Regions from separate parts of the Homo sapiens genome. Here all the other regions are linked to region 3. Evidence: promoter capture Hi-C in human tissues and cell types (Jung and others, 2019). All regions are on one chromosome and are shown on one strand. Each heading gives the region's core, a stretch centred on a gene start or on the middle of the fragment in contact. The rest is flanking DNA. Distances are from core to core; before and after follow the strand shown. Region 1 overlaps NKAIN3 (sodium/potassium transporting ATPase interacting 3). Region 2 overlaps NKAIN3 (sodium/potassium transporting ATPase interacting 3). Region 3 holds the start of NKAIN3 (sodium/potassium transporting ATPase interacting 3).

The links. Contacts are between HindIII fragments. The study calls those that stand out against the background at their distance.
Region 1: a contact is called between a fragment that was not itself captured here and the fragment with the promoter of NKAIN3 in region 3, in 4 of the 25 tissues and cell types used here (IMR-90 fibroblasts, bladder, heart left ventricle and 1 more).
Region 2: a fragment that was not itself captured here is called in contact with the fragment with the promoter of NKAIN3 in region 3 in 2 of the 25 tissues and cell types used here (H1 embryonic stem cells and hippocampus).

The regions. Positions count from the first base shown.
Region 1 is chr8:62,393,491-62,397,407 of GRCh38, forward strand. All of the region lies in intron 1 of NKAIN3 (sodium/potassium transporting ATPase interacting 3), which reads left to right. It also overlaps the pseudogene LOC112268028. Among named protein-coding and RNA genes, the nearest start is that of NKAIN3, 150 kb to the left of the region's middle. The HindIII fragment of the contact is 3,212 bases long and covers 1-3,119 here.
Region 2 is chr8:62,441,097-62,445,132 of GRCh38, forward strand. All of the region lies in intron 1 of NKAIN3 (sodium/potassium transporting ATPase interacting 3), which reads left to right. Among named protein-coding and RNA genes, the nearest start is that of NKAIN3, 190 kb to the left of the region's middle. The HindIII fragment of the contact is 3,821 bases long and covers 1-3,467 here.
Region 3 is chr8:62,247,568-62,251,333 of GRCh38, forward strand. It overlaps NKAIN3 (sodium/potassium transporting ATPase interacting 3), which reads left to right and starts at 1,287. Exons shown (of 7, transcript NM_001304533.3): 1 at 1,287-1,560. The coding sequence starts at 1,507. LOC124901952 (a long non-coding RNA gene) reads right to left here. Exons shown (of 2, transcript XR_007060932.1): 1 at 1,890-3,766. The HindIII fragment of the contact is 6,824 bases long and covers 1-2,901 here.

The DNA of each region.
Region 1 (3,917 bases), core at 264-2,763, 150 kb after region 3:
CTTAGAGTGCTTTTATTGTAAATCTTAAATACCAGCTAATTTGATTCATCTGATTTTGTTTTTTCTTAAAAAAATTTTTAAGCTTTTCTAGATTATTTGCCTTTCCTTACAAATATTAACATTGGCTTGTCAAATTCTTATATAGAGACTGCTAGGATTTTGATTCTGAATGTATTCAATTTATAGTCAATTCTGGAAGAATTGACCTCTTAAAAATGGTGAATTTTCAAATTAATAAAAAAGTATATATTTCCATTTAGATAAGCCTTAACTTTTTAAAGCAATGCTTTAGAGTTTTCAGTTCACAGACATTGCACATCTTTTTGTTAAATTTATTTGTAAGAGTTTTTCTTTTTATGGTATATGCTGTAGTTAATTAAAATTTGATTTTATTGTCAGGTTGTTTATTTCTGGTGTATAAAATAAAATTGATTTTTGCATGTTAGTTTATATCTTGAGAATGTGTTAGACTCATTAGCTTTAGGAAGCTTTATATTAGGTTCTTTAAGATTTTCTACATACACCATGTCATATGCAAATAAATGCACTATTGTTACTTCCATTCTAACATGTGCCTTTCATTTATTTCTTTTTTGTCTTGCTATACTTGCAGCGGTGAGAGTGGACATTCTTTGCCTTTTTCCCAATTTCAGGAGAAAACATTCTGTTTTTCATCATTAAATATGAAGTTAGTTTTACATTTTTCATAGATACGCTTTATCAGGTTAAAGACGTTTTCCTCCATTTCTCATTACATTTTTTTTTAAATCATGAATGGTGCTGAATCTTGTTAAATGTTTTTTCTTCCTCTACTAAGATAATCTTACAGTTTTTCTCTTTATTACATTTAGGTAATATGCTTAGATACGTTACATTTATATAATACTACATTTGTTAACCTTCGGATGTTAAACCAACTGTGTATACATGAGAAAAATTACATTTGTTCTTGGTGAGTTATTGTATTTTTTTCTTGACTGTAATTGCTATTTTTTTTTTTTAATTTAAAAGTAAACTTTAATGTCAAAATGCAAACCTGGGGAGGGCATAAAGATCACACACAAGGCTGCCACTTCACACTTGGAGGGTTGCACAGTGGCCAGTCAAAGGCGCTCCTCACTTCCCAGACAATGTGGTGGCCAGACAGAGGTGCTCCTCACTTCCCAGACCTGGCGGCAGCGGGGCAGAGGCGCTCATCACTTCTCAGACGGTGGGGCGGCCAAGCAGAGGTGCTCATCACTTCCCAGACGGGGTGGCGGCTGGGCAGAGGCGCTCATCACTTCTCAGATGGTGGGGCGGCCAAGCAGAGACTCTCATCACTTCTCAGATGGTGGGGCGGCCAAGCAGAGGCGCTGCTCACTTCTCAGACGGTGGGGCGGCCGGGGGAGGCGCTCATCACTTCCCCGACGGGGCGGCGGCTGGACAGAGGCGCTCATCACTTCTCAGATGGTGGGGCAGCCAAGCAGAGGCGCTCCTCACTTCCCAGACGGGTCGGCGGCCGGACAGAGGCGCTCATCACTTCTCAGATGGTGAGGAGGCCGGGCAGAGGCGCTCCTCACTTCCCAGACGGTGGGTCGGCCAGGCAGAGGCGCTCATCACTTCTCAGATGATGGGGCGACGGGACAGAGGTGCTCCTCACTTCCCAGACGGGGCGGCGACGGGACAGAGGCGGTCCTCACTTTCCAGATGGTGCAGCGGACGGGCAGCAGCGCCCCTCACTTCCCAGACCGAGGGAGGTGCGGGGAGAGGTGGCCAGGCAGAGGCGCTCCTCACTTCCCAGACATTGCGCGGGGCCGGGCGGAGGCCCCCCTCACTTCCCAGACGGTGGGGCGGCCGGGCAGAGGCGACCCTCACTTCCCAGACCGAGGGAGGTGGTGGTGGGGGGTGGCCCGGCAGAAGCGCTCTTCACTTCCCAGGCGGTGCGGGAACCAGGCGGAGGCACTCTATTTGGTAATATCTTTAAGGATTCATGAAAAAAAAGTCTATGAAACAAACAAATTGAGAATCGTCCCATTGTACAGATTTAAAATTATTTTAAGCAAGAGACTTTTCTTTATAGCTAAATATCTAAATATCAGAGTATTTTTTGTAGATGCTTATGTAAATTCTGGAACGTTGTTTTCAATTTTAATAAAGATATTTATCCAAAGTTCCACACACATCCACATATCCACACACATACATATATATCCTGATATCTATCTTCATTAGCAACATATCTTAATTATACATATATCTTAATTTGATAGATATCTTAAGCTTCTCTGAAGTGATAAGTAGATATAGATCTCAATTAGATATACATATTAGAAGATAGAAATACTTGAGCAATTGATCAATAGAGGTTCTGCTTTTTAAATTAAAAAAGTAGTTGCATAGCTATTTTTAAATGTTAATTATTCTTTCAAAGAAACTGATGAATTTTCCTGTTAAAAAATTGTAAAATGTGTATTTAAATCACCCATATAGTGAGGCTTAAGTCTCCAGATTTATTACTTTATGAGCTACCAGAATTATAGAAATGTGGCAATTTATTTTGAAGAAAAAAGAGGTTTTTAAAAATGTACTACCACATTATTTTAATAGCACACTATACAGACATCAGTACTTACAGGGAAAACCTTAATCCTTTAGTGTAATGTTTAGTGTTAATTATGTCTCTCTCACACACACACATGCACACACACACTTTCTTAGAGCTGCTTTATTTTTATCCTCAGAAGACCCTTATGCACAAAGGTGATTGTTTCCACTATAGAAGCTTCCCTTGTGTGATTATTTCCCTTTTAGAATCTTAGGCAGTTCAGTTTAGAGAAGTCCCCTCAAAAGCCCCCTTCTTATTTGGCTAGGCCGCAACCCGGTGCCTAAGCCTATACTCTCCTTAGTGTATCAGTGCTCTTCAGGACAATTATACAATGAAAAGCTTAGGCTTTTCTTACAAAGGCAGTTTATACTGGAATGTAAATTAATTTACAGAATTAATTCTCAGATATTCCTTGTATTAAAAGGACAAGGTATTTCCTGGGCACTCCATAGCTTAAGATACCAATGTGTTTATCATAGTATTTTTATTTCACTTTTTGCTTAAACAATTGTGGCTCTTAATTTATAGTAGAATAAATTTGATGTGTGTGTTAACTTTCTACTAATTAATAACCTGATAATTTTAGCCCTACTTACCCTGTCTATTCTGCTAAACCAAATTACAAAATTTACACTTTACTCCTATGACAAGTTCTTCATTATTTTGCCCCTGTAACTATTCTTGTGTTAATCACTATTAGGAAAATGTCCCCTACCTATCACTTCAGAGAAGCTTCTTATTGCGGCTTTGTTTCCCAGGTACCAGGTTATAACGACTTACTTTGGTATTTGTTATACCAAGTGATTGTGATGTCTGAACTTCCCTGACCTCAGTTTATCATCAGAGGGAAAAAGGACAAAAGCCCTTGAGCGGGCAGTGATATACATACAGGTTTTAACAATTTATTGTGCACGACAGATGTAAACTAAATATTATTTAGGATATTGGGATATGTGGGGTGTTCTTTGGGGTGTTCTAGAAGAATCATCTTAAAACTCTCCCAGCACAAAAGTGGTGTGTCTGTTATCAGTGGTGCCATCACAGATCTTTAAGGTTTTAAGGTTTAACAGGAAAGCCACTGGCCTCAGTGCTCGAAGGACCACTGATCCTTGCTACCACCCTGATATTTAATTAGAGGAGAAAATAAACTTTATCATCCCATTTGTGCCTTTTATTATCTTTTTCCTTAAAAAAAAAAGCACAATGAACCAAAACTTCTAAAATTCACCTTTTTTTTTCTTTTGGTGGAACAAAGATGTGTTAGTATTAGAGTTGTTTATTTTGTTTAAAGGATTTCTATCTTGAAGTATGTACTTTGTTTTCCTCAGGAGCA
Region 2 (4,036 bases), core at 307-2,806, 190 kb after region 3:
TGACATCTATAGTTTTGAATATAAATATTCTCCAGGAATATTAGGTCTTATTGATTCAAAGGGCTAAGCTTTTTATTATTTTTAAAGAAGTAGGAGATAATATTACTGATTTTAAGAGATAATATGCTATTTTTACTACTATATAGCTGTGGGATTTTGTTTTATTTTATTTTGTTTTTCGGTATGCCTTCATATCTGATAAGATCAGCTGTTTTTCCTAAGTCTTCATTATAGATGTCTTTGAAAAGAATTAACATCTTTACAATGTTGAATTGTCTATCAGGGAAAAGAGTGTAACTTTATTTCTTCAAGTTTTTATATCTGTAAGTGGAATTACTAAAGCTTGAAAATCTAAAATATTCTCTATAATGTCTTGTGCATTGTTTACACAACTATTATTGTAATTCCTAAATATTTTATCTTGTGAGTTTTAATATTATCTTATTTTTAATTTTATTTTTTACTTGATTATGCCTGGTATAGGTAAATTTTTGAAAATTAATCTCATATCAAACAACTTCCCAGAACTACCTTATAATTTTTAAGAATGTGCCTGTTAACTACATTAGATTTGCTTTGTAGATGAACATATATTGGTAATTAATAATTTTTATCTATTCCTATTATTTTATTTTCTTATTACATTTTCTAGGATCTTTAGTACAATATAGAAAAAAATCAAATCTAATTAAAAACATTGATAAGAAACATCTTTATCTCATCCCCTCCTTTAAAAAATATGTACCAAATCACCCCATTGTGTTGTGTGGGGTTTTGATAAATTCTCCTTATCAAGTTAAGGGATTTCTCTGTACTTTTAAGTTTCCCAGACTTTGATTATCAGACTGAATTTCATCCCCCTTTTTTTGCATTTGGGAAAATCATATACATTTGTCTATTATTTTGTTAATTTGATGACTTGTATTGATAGATGTTCTGATATTAAATCATTATATTCTCTATTGAACATGATATATTTTTGTAAATTGTTGAGATATAAAAGCTAATTTAATTAATCTGGATTTTTTTCACACCTGAGAAATGCCTATACAATTTTCTGTTTTTAGTTATCCAGTTTAGCTTATCTGTTCCTTGAAAGCTTGCTAGAATTCTTTGTAAAACTATCAGAGCCTTGTACTATTTTGGTGGAAAGGAATATATTTAATTTATATTTCAATTTTTAATAGTCATTGTCTATTCATTAGGCTAATATTACTAGTTTTGGCATTTTATATTTTTCTAGAAATGTATTCTGTTTTAGATTTCTAAATTTATTGGCATATGGATGCACAAAACAGTAGTTTATTATTATAGCATTAATACCTGGAGATATTTCCCTTTCAAATTCTATAATATATTTATTTGGTCTATTGCCCTCCCATAGACACTGAAAAATAAGTATTAACAGAGGTTATCTAACTTTTAGTATTTTCAAATAATCAATTTTTGGTTTCCTCATCTTTTTGACTGGTTAATGTTTCTTTTTTATTTCACTGATTGCTGCCTTTAATTTTTTTATTTTCTTTTTATTTTTGGCTTTATTATAGTATTTTTTATGTTTTTTATAATATCTAACTTGTTTTCACTTCCTCTTGTGGTCTGATAGATCCATTGAAAGCTGTAATTTTTCCATAAATTTCTTGATTGAGCTATGCCCTCAATTGTTGATATATAGGTTTTTAATTGTCACTTAGCTCTAAATTGTTCCTTATTCCCCCATACCATTACCATTTTGACCCAAGTTCATCTGGTCATAAGTGTTTTAGGATACAAATATGTCCATTTTTAACTATTTTCTTCATTGATCTAATTATTTTTCACTTGATCAGTGAAAAATATATCATACATAATATGTATGATATTGATGTTTTGAAGTTTATTGAGGCTTCCTTTGAGAGTTCATTCAGCATTGACTTTTGTGTATATTCCATGTGTACTTAACATGTCTTTTCTCCTTGTCTGATATAAAATTAGGCATATATCTATTAAGTTTATGAGCCATCTTATTCAAAAGTTCTAGAATTTTTCTTATTCTTTTTTCTTTATCAGTTTCTAAGTTTTCTCTTTTAAAATCCCAATCACAATTGTTCATGAACAATTGTTTATGAATCTATTTTTCCTATAGATGTGATGATTTCTGCTTTTTTGTATTTCAAGTATAGATAGACTCATAATATGATTATTATGGACTTTTCACTTATTATCTTTCGTAGTATTATATATTGTCCTTCATTGCTGCTTTCAATTTACTTGTTGTCCTACTTTGTATTTTAACTGATATTTTATTTATTTTATTTTATTTTTTGAGACAAAGTCTCACTCTGTCACCCAGGCTGGAGTACAGTGGCACAATCTCGGCTCACTGCAACGTCCACCTTCCGGATTCAAGAGATTCTCCTGCCTCAGCCTCCCGAGTAGCTGGGACTAGAGGTGCGAGCCACCATGCCAGGCTAATTTTATATTTTTAGTTCAGAAAGGGTTTCACCATCTTGGCCAGGCTAGTCTTGAACTCCTGGCCTCAAGCGATCCACCTGCCTCAGCCTCCCAAAGTGCTGGGATTTATTGGGGTGCGTGAGTCACCATGCCCAGCCTTGACTGGTATTTTAACTGCCACCACAATTGTCAATTAGTTATTATTATTTTCTTATTTTATAATTTTTCTCTTCTCTTTCTTTTTGATTTTTTCTGCATCTTTTTGCCACTAATATGTATATCTCATAGGTAATATTTTAGAACAATTTCTAAAAATTCATTCTTACAGAAATAATTTTTTGTTGTAAACTATGCTCCAAGCAGTCTTGTAAGCACTTTGCCTGTATCATCTCATTTCATTTATATAAAGCTCTAACAGGCATTACTGTTAGCGTTACTTTATATATAAAAAACAGCCAGTGGAATTTTAAATAGCTTGCCTAAAGATAAACAGTTAATGGTTCCAATACTTGAACCTGAGCCTATACTCTTTACCACTATGACGTGCTGCCTTCTAATAAATTTATAATGCCTTTTTATTGATATGTAATACATGTACATATTTTTGGGATACAAGTGATAATTTCATAATTTATATAATATATAATATGTGAAGGACAAATCAGGGTAATTGAGATATCCATCACCTTAAAATTTTATCTTTTCTTTATGCTAGTAACCTTCAAATCATTATCTTCTAGCTACTTTGAAATGTACAATTGATTAATATTAGCTATAGTCACCATACTGATCTATTGAACACTAGACCTTATTTCTTCTTCCTAACTGTGTATTTGTACCCACTAATCAACATCTCTTTATCCCTCCTCCCCACCTCTTGTAACAACCAATCTACTCTCTATCTCCATGAAATCCACTTTTTTAGCTTCCACCTGTGACTGAGAACATGCAGTATTCATCTGTGTTTCTCTTAATAAAGTCACTCCCAGCTCTATCCATGTTGCTAAAAATGATAGGATTTCATTATTTTGTATGTCTTAGTAATATTCCATTAGGTATATATACACCACATTTTCTTTATCCATTAATGGACAATTACCTTGATTCCATATTTTGGCTATTGTAAATAGTGCCAATCATGGGAGTGCAGGTATCTCTTCAATATATTTATTTCCTTTCTCTCAAATATACACCCAATAACAAAATTGCTGAATCATGTGATAGTTCTATTTTCAGTTTATGAAAAACCTCCATACACTTTTCCTTAGTGGCTGTACTAATTTATATAACCCCCACAATGTACTAGTGTTCTGCCTTCTCCACATTCTTACCAGCATCCATTATTCCCTGTCTTTTCTGATAAAACCCATTTTAACCGTGGTGAGATGATATCTCATTGGAGTTTGGATTTGCATTTTCCTTTTCTTCTTTTTTTTTGACAGAGTCTCGCTCTGTCACCAGGCTGGAGTGCAGTGGCACTATCTTGGCTCACTGCAACCTCTGTCTCCTAGGTTCAAGTGATCCTCCTGCCTCAGCCTCCCAAGTAGCTAGGACTACAGGCATGCACCACCATGCCCAGGTAATTTTTGTATTTTTAATAGAG
Region 3 (3,766 bases), core at 37-2,536:
CGCCAAGAACCCAGGAGGGCAGCAGTGGGCTAGAAACAGGGTTTCTGTGCCAAATTCTGAAAACAGCCTTTTCTGAGATAATTGGCCTGCAGGCTTGTTCCCTGTTCTGGTGTGCTTTTGAGCTCCTTGCGCAGTTCCACCAGGTACAACAAATGCGCCCATAAAATCTGTCTTTGAGCCCTGATGAAATTTCATCCTCTGCAGAACGCCTCCGCTCTGTTTTATTAGGTGGGAGAGAGCAGGAGAGTTTCCACAGGATTCAGAGAGAGTTTGTCCGTATCTTAACTATCCGAGATCTTCTTTCCAAATCCTTCTCAATTTATTTCTGTGAAGATATATTTATACCTATTCCGGAAACCTTCTCCATTTCTAGAAAAAGCTACGCATCTTCTTCTTCCTCGACTTCTCTTTTCTCCCTCCCGGTGAGGATTTCAAAGGGTATGTGAGAAAAGAACCTTAAGCCAGGTCTCCCCGCGGCGTCCTGGCTAGTCCCGGCGCCCTGGGCGGGTGCATCGCTCCGCCGCAGCGCCCCTTGCCACCCAACTCTGTCCAACTTTCCCTTTCAGACTCCAGCAGGGGCGCCCTCCAGGCAACCGGCTGTGGCGGGCAGAAGCAAGCTCGGATGGGAGACCCCCGAGCTGCGTGCCCAGCGCCGGCTCAACAGACTTGCCCGCGCAGCGCCCGCGGGCCCCCTCGCATCCGGGCAGGTTCCGGAGCTGGGCCTTGCGCTCCCCGGCGCCCGCCCACCCTGGGTGTCTCGCGTCCCGGCCCTTCCTCCCCGGAACCCAAGCTAACCCAACTCCCATCCTCGCCACCTCTGGGGCAGCTCAACTAAGCCGTGTCCCCTCCCTTGCAAACGCGTCCGACCACCCTCCCAACCCCCAGCACAACCCTCAGCAAGAAAGCCCAGCTGGGTCTACCCAGTTACACCGGTCAACGAGGGTCTCCATCGCCGCCGGCCGCCCTAATTCACGCTCATTCATATTCATTCTCTTTTCTCTCTGTCCCTCTTCCTTTCTCCCCAAAGACTCTTAACTAGACAGGCCGATCCTCCCCAGCGGCACTCCCTTTCATTCTTCCCTTCCCACCACACACACACACACACACACACACCCGGACCCAGACAGCCCACTCCACTTTCCAGACGCCCACCTCCTACATACTCCCCTCCCCTAAACAGACATTCACCCACTCGCCATCTGTAGCCTCCTTCCAACCCCCCGCCCCGCCCGCCTGGCTCCCCCTCCCCAAGAAACAGACCTGCACAGTGGGACGCAGGGACCCCCGCCAGACGCTCGGGTCGTGCGCACCGCACTGACCTCGGCCCGCCCCGCCGGGAAACTAACAAAGGCGGGCGCGAGCCCCGAGCCCTGGAGCCGCGAGCGGCGGCCGCGGGGCCGAGGAGCCTGGGCCGGGCCGGGCGGGGACTACTCCGGAGTCAGGAGGCAGCAGCGGCGGAGGACGAGGATCTCTGGCAGTCAGCGCCGCTCGGACGCCGCCGGCACCATGGGCTGCTGCACCGGACGCTGCTCGCTCATCTGCCTCTGCGCGCTGCAGTTGGTGAGTGCCCCGAGGGCCCCTGCCCCAGGACAGGTCCCTGCTCCAGGACCGGCCTCTGCGACTCCCTCTGCGGTTCCGCAGCTCCCGGCAAGGGGCGAACGGGTGAACAGGGCGCTCCGCCCGCCTCCCACCCTCCCCACCGCCTGGCTGGGCTCGCACTGCTCTCCAGCCGCGGGCACTCGCCAGGTCGCCCCTGCCCTGCAGGAGGGCGCGGTCTCACCCCCGGTCCCATGCGCTGGGGTTCGCCGCGCTCCCGCCGGGCGTCGCCACGCGGTCCAGGGGCCAGGAGCCGGCGGAGTGAGGGATTTTCCCGCCCCTTGATCCGATACCTGGTTTAGCACCCTCCGCGTTCGTGCTGAAGTTACACGGGGACTTGCGGGCTCTTTCTTCTTAGGATGATTTCCAGGAATGTTGCTTAATTACACTGTGTGGGAATGCCCAGGTTCTGAGGAGACAGAAGCTGCCTCAACTCTGTTAGTGAAGAGTGAGGTGGTTCTAACCTTAAGCAGGTTGAAAAGTGATGGTTAAGGAGTCTGGGACCTCCAGGAAGGAGATCAGGCTGTGTGCTTCAGCCCCTGCCCTTCCAGTTCCGCTTTGGATTTTGTTGAAATGTTGCATGTTCAGGCGGCGACAGACTGACAGCTGTCATCAAGGAGAGAACAGAGTGAACCGGCTCCATTGGCGCGGTGCCTTGCAGAGGGAGTGTGTGTAATGGGAAGTTAGAAACTAGAGTGGGGAAAAAAGGCCCTTTCAGAGCAGAGCAAATGCTCCTCTTAATCCCTTTGGATCCTGGACTGGCTCTGTGGTCTATTCCATGGTCACTTGAGGTCAAGGCCACAGACCTTTTGAGTCAGACTTTTGTGTGTGAGAGATTAATAGACATCTCCCTTGCGTTATACTTCAGACAGATTCTGAGTGCTCTGCCAAGCTTTCTTCCAAGCATTGTATTTTTTTTCGAGTCACAAATATAAACTAGTATATTTTGACAAGTGAGAGGAAAAAGCTTGCAATGAACTTTACTTAGTAATGTCATCCCTTGCAAGACTTATTAACTGAGGGATAAAATCGTGCTTTTTAGTAGTTAGTCCTTGTTTACATGAAGGCTTTAGAATGTTTTCACTTTTCTCTTGCCTCAGTGTTCCAGTCTCCCATGAAAACCTCACTTTGGATGTGCCCTTCATTGTTCACATAATGCATGCATAATTTATGTATTCGTAGGTTTGAAATCAGTGACTTTTTAAGCCTATTGGATAGTGCCTTCTGTCTTGTGAAATACTTGAATCAAACATATTTTATAGTTTCTTGAAAAAAATTTTAAAAATTTAAAACAATATGAATGTTTTCTTTCACTAAGAAAAGAAGGCAGGAGCTTGATTTGTATTTTGGTTTTCAGAAATGGACATGGCTTATAAGTTGGAAAAACTGACTAAACATTGAGTCAACCCTTGATTCAATGTAAGATTATAGATAGGCATGCTGGATTGCATAATCTATAATGCCTAATTTCTATTTTACATGGAAATAACAAGTAAGGTTTTTATGTAGCAGATTTATCAATGCAATTATGATTTTCTTAACAGGCATTGTGATGATAATGTTTTTGAGATTTCATCCATCAGCCAAGCATGCCCCTTCTTTCCACTTTCTTAGTTGATACAAATGCAACTTATTTGTCAAAGCTTATCTTAAAATTCCATTTTTTAATGAAGTCTTCCTTGGTGCTCCAGGTAAAATCCCTTATATTCCTATAATCTCATAGCACTTCGCTTTTTCCTCTGTTATAAAACATTTGATACACTCTTAAATAATTTTAAGTTATTTACACATATTTCTCACCACTAGATTGTAAGCAACTTGAGGGTAGGGACCATAGTACTAGTGATCTTTACAAACTCTGCAAGTTCTTAGAGCTCATATTAGGAGCTGAAACATATTTGCTGAATTTTTGATAATACATAACATTTGCAATCCATACAGGACTTTGACATAAACATTTCTTTTGACTTTTAAAACTATCCTGTGAGGTAGATACTCATTTCATTTGTTTGCAGGTGAGGAAGTTGATATTCATAAACAGTTTTTCCATAATCAAGAGTTTTTGGATGGTAGAAATATTGGGGTGATGGTAAGCATTTAACAACTGGATTGTAAACAAAACAAATGTATATATTACATTATAATAGCATACAAGATAATCTTCTCTATG